Linked DNA regions of Homo sapiens: region 1 is linked to region 2. Evidence: promoter capture Hi-C in 16 types of primary human blood cells and fetal thymus (Javierre and others, 2016). All regions are on one chromosome and are shown on one strand. The core of a region is centred on a gene start or on the middle of the fragment in contact, and the rest is flanking DNA. Distances in the headings are between cores, read along the strand shown. Region 1 overlaps SLC4A5 (solute carrier family 4 member 5). Region 2 holds the start of SLC4A5 (solute carrier family 4 member 5).

Region 1 (4,533 bases), core at 635-3,134, 110 kb after region 2:
AAAAAAAGAAAGAAAAGAAAAAGAAAGGCACAGTCTTACTAGGCCAAAGCAATGTTTCCACACTGTCACCGCCGTTTTCTGTGATACTGCAGTTTTTTATCATCACCAATCCTCTCTCCCACCCATCCCAGGGCCACTCTCACCTTTCTGGAGGATACTCTTCCCTCTGAAAGTTCTGCCAAGTTGTAGCCCTGCTTAGATCAGGAACTTCCTGAATGGGGTGTGTTTCCACATTGCCAGGGTTTGGGGCTCATGAAGTTTAAAACTTGCAGCAGGAGGCCAAACATGGTGGTACATCCCTGTAGTCCGGCTACTCAGGAGGCTGAGGCGGGAGGATCACCTGAGCTCAGGAAGTCTGGGGACTCGAGTGACTTTTTCCCACACAGCTTGAAGCTCCTCTTGCTTATGTCCCACCACAACAGCTAAGAGACTAAGTCAAGTAGGGGTACAATGGAGGCAGGCGTCCCCCACAAGGGTCTCTTTCTGGAGAGACTCCAGAAAGCAAGGTGTTCCCACCAGGCTTCCCTGCTCTCCACTCCAGCCAATCGCCCATCACTCTCCCTTTCCCTTGATCAGTGCCCACGTAAGACTTTCCTTTCTTGAATTAAGTTTACCTGTAATTGCCTCAACCTTTTGCCGATATTATTTTTCCTCTTTGAATATCTCAAAACAGCTCATGACCAGGCATGGTGGCTCATGCCTGTAATCCCAGGACTTTGGGAGGCCGAGGTGGGAGGATCACTTGAGACCAGCCTGGGCAACATAGCAAGACCCCCATCTCTACAAAAAATACAAAAATTAGCCAGGCACGATGGTACATGTGAGGCATGATCACTTGAGTCCAGGAGGTCGAGGCTGCAGTGAGCCATGATCATGCCACTGCACTCCAGCCTGGGCAACAGAGTGAGACCTCTTCTCAAAAAAAAAAAAAAAAAACCTCATTCAGAGGTGACCTTGTAAGAAACAAACGCTAAAGAATGATGATTCTGGCTGATGTATTTACAATGGAAAATATTTCTGGCTTGAGAATTGGTGCTGGGCATACCCGAGCAGTAAGTAGGAGGCTGGCATTTTTTAAGGGATATTTCCCTTGTGGGGGAAACAAATTACACACAGGAGGGCAAGCATTTTGTTTATTGAAAAATATATTTTAAATGGCCAGGGACTACTTACTTTTGTAGAGAGGGTTCTAAGGTGCCATTGTGTATGTCAATTTTGACACTGTTTAACATACAAGTATTTGCATTAAAAAGCTCGAATCAGGCTGGGTGTGGTGGCTCAAGCCTGTAATCCCAGCACTTTGGGAGGCCGAGGCAGGTGGATCACCTAAGGTCAGGAGTTCAAGACCAGCCTGGCCAACATGGTGAAACCCGAAACCCTGTGTCTACTAAAAATACAAAAATAGCCAGGTATGGTGGCACATGCCTGTAGTCCCAGCTACTCAGGAGGCTGAGACGGGAGAATTGGTTGAGCCCGGGAGGTGGAGGCTGCAGTGAGCCGAGATTGCACCACTGCACTCCAGCCTGGGCAAGACAGAGTGAGACTCCGTGCCCCCCCCAAAAAAAAAAAACACCTTCGAATCGGCCAGGCATGGTGGCCCATGTCTGTAATCCTAACACTTTGGGAGGCCGAGGTGGGAGGATCACTTGAGAACAATAGTTTGAGACCAGAATGGCCAACATATCGAGACTCTGTCTCAAGAAAAAAAAAAAAGCTCAAATCTAAGAACAGACTTCTTTAGGGGCAAAAAATTCCTCTAAAGCCCTCCTAGTGTTGGCATAGTGCTCTGTGCTCTCCGGAGTGCTCTAACATGACCACAAGGAGGAACAGCCTCTGCTCACCATGGGGAGCCACAGCTGCAGGTGAAAGAGAGAAGGTAAGGGGCAGAAACAGCTGAGAGAGACAGCGGAAGAATGCTTTGAAAGGCTGTGAAGATTTGGAATCATTCTTGTAGAGTGGGATGAATTCTATGATCCCATTTTTGAAAAAGCAAACAAATTGCCTGTGTGCAAGTTTGGAGGGAAGGATACCCGCCAAACTATTGGTGGTTAGTTGGTGATGAGTGCTGATTAGTTTACACACTTTTGTTCTGCTTCTTTTGTATGTGATTGCGTATGAGGCATGATTTCTGTTTTTTTTTGGTTTTTTTGGGGGGCGGGGGGGTTTGTTTGTTTGCTTTGTTTGGTTTTTTTGAGACAGAGTCTCTTTCGCCCAGGCTGGAGTTCAGTAGCACGATCTCAGCTCACCGCAACCTCCATCTCCCGGATTCAAGCGATTCTTCTGCCTCAGCATCCTGAGTTGCTGGGATTACAGGCATGTGCCACCACGCCTGGCTAATTTTTTTGTATTTTTAGTAGAGACGGGGTTTCACCATGTTGGCCAGGCTGGTCTCAAACTCCTGACCTCAGGTCATCCACCTGCCTTGGCCTCCCAAAGTGCTAGGACTACAGGTGTGAGCCACCACACCCGGCCGGATGCGTGATTTCTGTTAAGTGTCCCGGGTACTCGCTGCTGATGTAGATCAGCTCATTAAAAGTCCCCATGCCCCTGCAGGCTGAGCAGTTTTAGGGGACCCTCAGCTGAGGCTGGAGGTAGGAAGAAGCTGGGCAGGAATGAGGAGGGGGCAGTCTGTGGAGTCTTCTCACTTTCCAGAAGGCATTTCTTTAGCCAGACCACATGGCCTCCGCACGGTGCAGTGAGGGGCCAGGCCAGGAGAGCAGCTGCATGCTGGGCCAGCTACCCCAGCCAGAGAAGGGGCAGTACAGCCCCAGTGACCCTCATCTTCACCCCTGCCCACATCCCAGTTCTGCTGACTCTCTGTTCCCCCAAATATCCAGTTTCCTAGCTGCCTCTGTGGTCAGGAGCCACTGTCATCCAGAACAGGGTGGCCAAGGGCCGCCCCAGGCAGAGGCCGATCCAAAGCTCTGCTCTCATTTTAGTGTATCCCCCTGCCGGTGCTGTACGGAGTCTTCCTCTACATGGGCGTGGCCTCCCTGAATGGCATCCAGGTAAGGCTTTCCCTCCAGATCCCTTCATGATCTGGAGTCAACATTCCATGTCTGGTTCCATGTCACCAAGACCCCCAATTCAGTTGTCCCAATTGTCCCCAATTGTCCTAATTCAATGAAAGAATAATAGTAATAATGATACTACCACTTACTGATGCTATCAGGCAAAATAAATATGTTAGGCACTTCATAGGCCTCATATAATTGAATCTATGTAATTAGGTCCTCTGATCCCCATTTTACAGATGGGGACCGGAGGGTCAGAATTCAAAATCCAGAAGAAGCTGACTCCAGTGAGCATTTCACTGTACCTCTCTCTCTTCCCTAAGGCAGCTATGCAGAAGAAAACATTTTTGTTTTGTTCTGTATTTACTGTGAAATCCCAGAATTCTTAAACAGTTTGTGTTACAATTAACTTGCACTTTCCCTGAATATGGACAATGTCCATTTTGTGGCCAGCTCCAGGGCTCCTCCCCTCACCCAGGGCTCAGGACCCTTTCTCTAAGACCCCATTATGCATCCGCCTAGACACCTCCAGCCCCCCTCCCGTGCATCCTTAAGGCCTGAGCAGGGGGCTTCCCCTCTCTGAGACCCCACCCAGGCACCCCTTCCCCTAGTCCCAGGACCCAGCGGGCCCTCGGGGTCTGGCTGCCTGGCTGAGCCCCCGCTGTCCCCCTAGTTCTGGGAACGCTGCAAGCTCTTCCTGATGCCAGCCAAGCACCAGCCGGACCATGCCTTCCTGCGGCACGTGCCGCTGCGCCGGATCCACCTCTTCACCCTGGTGCAGATCCTCTGCCTGGCGGTGCTCTGGATCCTCAAATCCACGGTGGCTGCCATCATCTTCCCGGTCATGGTAAAGTGGGCACGGGCTTCCCCCTCCTGCCTGGCAGGTTGGCCTGGGCAACCCAGAGGTGCAGCGCAACCTCCCCTCCTGCCACCTTCTGCCTTCCTGTCAGCTGTGGCCTGGCTCCCTCGGGTCACGGAGGCTGGCACAGAATGACCTGATTTGAGTTGTGAGTCCAGGCCAGATGGTGTGGGGTGGGGCAGAGAGGAGGCGGAGGAAGGAATGTCAGAGCCGCTCAGTGAGAACCCAGGAGCCACCCTACCTCCTGGCTCCAGGGAGGGACGGAGAAAGAAAATCAGTTCAACCAGGAGACCGAGTTCCCACTGCCAAAATTCCAACCAGTCTCAGAAGTCGATGCGTACTAAATATAGATCTTTCCACCATTCAAGATAGCTAAATTTAAAAAGCTAAATAGTGAAGTAGGGGGGCAGGGGAAGAACGAGGGTCAGAGATCAAGAACAACAAAACCCAATGATGGTATATATAAAGCTTGAGCAAGGGAAAGGTTACAGGTCTTTCACTATTCTTGCAAATATTGTATAAGTTTGAAATTACTCCAAAATAAGAAGTGAAAAGAATGCAAAGCCAACAACATGTTGCATCTGGCCCCCTAGATAACTCACCGAGGGCAGTGACCCAGGCCCTTGCCAGGAGCCTGGAGTGTGTCAGCAAATGCCTGGG
Region 2 (4,379 bases), core at 1,665-4,164:
AGAATCACTTGAACCTGAGAGGCAGAGGTTACAGTGAGCTGAGATGGTGGCCAGTGCACTCCAGCCTGGGTGATAGAGTGAGACTCCATCTCAAAAATAAATAAATAAATAAATAAATAGAAAAAAGAAACACATCAATAGAAACATAGATATGAATAGGAAATTCACAAAAAATACACTTACCAAGTTAAATCAACCTTAAGTAAAAAATTCGTTCAAGATTGTAAAGTGAACTGTTAACATTTACTTCTCTTTCCTCCCTAAGTCCAACTGGAACTACATTTTTTAAATGAAAAAAAGTAAAGTATGCAACCTCATGAGAGAACTTGAAAAAAAAAAAGTAAAAAGGAAAAATATCCAAAGCAAAAAAAAAAAAAAAAAAAAAGCATTCCAAAGCAGTGCTGGAATACGAGGAGGGGTTTACAGTATACTTCTTTGGACCTGACGCCTAGCACTTTTCCCTTCTGAGAGAAAATCTGCCATCCCCACTTTAGTCGCCTGGTTCATGTGGGAAACTGAGGCTTAGAGACAGCAGAGCTGGGGAGTGGCAGCAGGATATTGTGGCAGGTGGTGGCAGTCGGGGACTTCAGGCTGTGGTCTCACACCGCCACACTGCCTTTCCCTTTTCTCACAGAGAACATTCAAATGGCTGTCTTTCTCTGGCAAGGTAGAAAGCCTCTCAAATAAGTAAGGAACATGCTTTGGTTAACAGCTAACGAGGCATTAGGTCTGGACAGGGAGACAAGCAGTGCAGCAGCCAAATCCCAGTGGACACTAGACACGAGGAAGAAAGCACGGTGCTGCCAGGGCAGGTCCTCCTCCCTCCTTCCTCCTTCCTCCATTAGGAGGATTCCTGAGCCTGCAAACCTGTTCCCTTTGTGCATCCTGGAGGGACAGCCCCTGCCCCATACCTTCCAATACCCTCACCAAACCAGATGAAGCTCACCCTCAAATTCCTGTGTGAAGTGAGAGACAAAAAAACCCCAAACCTGAAGTGTCTGAAATAAATGTCCAAATTATTTGAACAAAACCTGGGTAGGTAGAAACCAAAGGGTTTCACTTGAATGCTTGGCAGTAACGTCTCAACTGGTCTTTCCACCTGTGCTACAATCCACTGTGAAGTCCATTATTCCATTCTTGTACCAAGTCCCCTTCCACATTCCTTTCACTTCAGACATGTTTGCTGATGTTTACACCTCTCCATAGACTACCCAGCCTATCGTCGCATGCCCAAAGCTTTATTTCCCCAAACCTGCCCTGTGCCAGGGAAACTGCTCTCCAGTTCTCAGGATATTTATGCTATGTTCTCCCACCTCTTATGTCTATATTTTTTGTGGCTTCTTCCCTCTGCCTCAGATACCCCTTGGTAGTTCTACTGTTCTAAATCCTACCCCTATCCTATCCCTTCACTGCATCTCCAAGGCCATTTTCTCCACAAAGCTTTTCTTTAACACATGGGGCTGGTAGGTAAGCCATGAACATTTGTGGAACAAGGTAATCCTCCAAACAAGGGTGATTTTTCTTTCACTGAACCCTTCCCTCCCTTTGTGCTTCTTTTTGGAGCCTCACACTCTTCTGAATTTGTTGAATCCCCAACCAGCTGGAAATTCCCTAAGGCCCGAAACTGTTTCTGGCCTAGGCTGTGCTGATCTTCCTGGGACTAAGGGGTTTCCTGGGTCACAGATCTTCTGTGCTAAAACCAGGAAAGCCTCTGGTGACCCAGCATGTGTTGATCTCCCTAGTCTTGCCTGTCTTTGATTCCATGGATTATTAACAGAAACTATAATGTTGGGTTAATGTGTTGGCTTGGGCATGGCCTCCGAAACATGTTTTTTACATGTCTGCCACCAGCAGGCTCTAGATCCAGGAATGAGGCTTTTCCACTAAGGGAAAACTCCACGTGATCTAGGAAGAAAGTGAGGATATCCAACCAGATGATAAATTTCCTATCTGAAAGAGAAGGTCAACCCTGAAATAAGGAGGCTGAAGACCCTTAGAGAAGCCACAGAAGAGACTGGAAGAAGAGGGGTAGAGTTGCTTTTTTAATGGGGCTTCCAGCTCCTACTTTTCTTCCTGTCTGTAAGTCTCTGAGCTTCTGTTCCAGCTCTGTAAGGTTGGGGACGAGAATGCTCTCCCCACTGGACTGTTGAGAGTTCAATGAGGGGAAATGTGTGCATATACCAGGCCCCATGCTGGGTGCCCAGAGACGCTGCGCCTTCCTGGCATGCTTCTCTTCCCCATCGCTCAGCACCGCGTCCCTCACTCCCTCCACTCCCGATTCTCACTTCCTACTCACTGGCTTCTTCCTTCCCATCTTCCTCCAAACTTCCCATTTTCCACTATGTCTCTCTCACCGTATCTTTTTCACTTAAACAAAAATGGAATTCATAAAAACAGAGGCCAAAAGTCAGGATAAACCTGGAAAAATCACCAAGTACGCAAAGTTTTTCTTGCAAGGTTTGGTTTTTTCAAATGCCTTCTTTGTTTTCCTTGCCCATATCCTTCTTCGGAGAGTCAGGATTTGGGGTTTGCAGAGCTGTGTGGCAGTGGAATGTGGAATGTTCTCCTGAATCTCAGTCCCATGAAGAAAAGAGGCAAAAGTCCTGACATCTTTCCTGAGGATTGTCTGATTTAAAAGAGCTGATTCTCCCCAGGCAAATGACTTACCTTTGTTGTGCTGGGACAAGCTGAACAGGCAAGGAATAAACCTCCCTAGAACACACTGATTAGATTAGCCAGTGAGAACCACTGAAGACGCAGACATTAGATTAAAAAACAGAAAAATGAATGTTACTTTTACAGTGGCTATGAATAGACAAAGACTTTTTGGTTTGAAAATAGTTGGTGAGGCAATAGAGGAGGGGCTATGTTAATAGCAGAGATAGAAAAAACGAGAGGTGGATGGTTCCAACTGCAAGGTCCACCCTAAAGGAATTGGAGTCAGGGCCCAGGAGCCACAGGCCACTGCACTGGGGTAAGTAGAGTGGATTTTACATAAATAAAGTTACAGAGTGGTTGTAGGTTCTGGTTTGGAGATGTGAGTGAACCAACTGAATAGAATAGGCAGATTCCCCAGCCCACCAAGAGTCAGATGAGAATTTTATTGCTTTTTGCTAAAGGCCTGTACAAGACTTAGAGCAAAGATAAGGAGTAACCTGATTGTTGAAACTAATCTATAAGTATTCCAACATAGCAAAGGACAAGTAACGGAATGACGAGGTTTTCCTGTAGTAGTGTTGCGATTTTGTTCTGCTGTGTCCCCCTACTCCAGTTTCCTCTGTGAGGGGAGCGTGTAGTGTGTGCATATCTGTGGAATGTCAGACTTCTAAAGTCAGGGGCTGAGACCTATATCTAGTTAGACCTCTGTGCATATTCTTGAGCCATGGGAGTCTCAGTGGTTGATAGTACTTCACACTTCTTCCAGTTCAATAAGGGTTACCTATGGTGTCTCCTCTGAGTCTCCTAGGAGTCCAGAAAACATGAGACTTGTATAAGAATCCACACTTCAACTAAGCTTTCTGGCCCAAAGAAGGCATTGTTACCAAGGATCTGTTTCTTGAGGTCTTTAGGGAGTGAGAGGGAAGGAACGCATGAGGAACCAGAGCTAGTCCCCATCTCTCTCCCTAGAAGTGACAGACTGCATAGCTCTTATGTATCAGGAGTCCTGGAGATCAGCTGGCTTTCCTTAAAAAAGGGTCATCCAGCCGTGATGAAATCCTGACTTAGAAACCCAGTGCCCTTAGCTTTGTGGGCTTCTGTCCCTGAGAAATGGTGTTTTACCCTCCCTCCAAGCAGGCATCCCAGGATTTGGAATTCAGCTGTGAGCTCATGAGCTGATGGATGTTTCCAGGAGTACCCTGAAGACCACCCAGGTATGCTCTCCCCACCTCCTTTATTTTGGATGGACCAGTCTAAGGAGAGTCATCTTTTCCCACACCATTGGTGGCACTCAGTGAGTGGCTTGTTGCTTGACTGAATGCCTGCCCACACCCTCTCCAGTCAAGTTTATCTTGAGTAACTAAACACTTAGCAATGGAGACACTCATACATCTCCACTGCACTAGAAGTAGGGATGGTGGCCATGCCAACAAAGGAGATAACTTTAGCACAAAGGATGTCACAAGAAACAGATAGTAGAGTGTGTTCTCCAGTGTTATCATTTCCCAAACCAGAATCAACTGGTCTTGGGTTTCCTTCCCTCATCCTTCATCTGTAGAAAACTTTGTTTCTTGAGCTACTTCAGATCTACTTCCCTATCTTAAGAGGTGGGCTATGTGCTTCTTCTGCTAATTTATTATCTCAGAAGTACATAATTTGAGCAATTTTATATAGTTTTGAGGACAGGAGCCCTGTAAGAGTCTCTTACTCAGAAATGGATT

Evidence for each region. Contacts are between HindIII fragments. The CHiCAGO score rates a contact against its expected background, and 5 or more counts as called.
Region 1: a contact is called between a fragment that was not itself captured here and the fragment with the promoter of SLC4A5 in region 2, in 5 of 17 cell types (naive CD4 T cells, naive CD8 T cells, total CD4 T cells and 2 more). The highest score is 6.4, in naive CD4 T cells.

The regions. Positions count from the first base shown.
Region 1 is chr2:74,226,285-74,230,817 of GRCh38, reverse strand. It overlaps SLC4A5 (solute carrier family 4 member 5), which reads left to right. Exons shown (of 31, transcript NM_133478.3): 26 at 2,940-3,008; 27 at 3,688-3,861. Among named protein-coding and RNA genes, the nearest start is that of MTHFD2, 30 kb to the right of the region's middle. RefSeq lists an enhancer at 2,216-2,716. The HindIII fragment of the contact is 4,919 bases long and covers 1-4,343 here.
Region 2 is chr2:74,341,951-74,346,329 of GRCh38, reverse strand. SLC4A5 (solute carrier family 4 member 5) reads left to right here and starts at 2,914. Exons shown (of 31, transcript NM_133478.3): 1 at 2,914-2,974; 2 at 3,796-3,872. The HindIII fragment of the contact is 2,074 bases long and covers 1,443-3,516 here.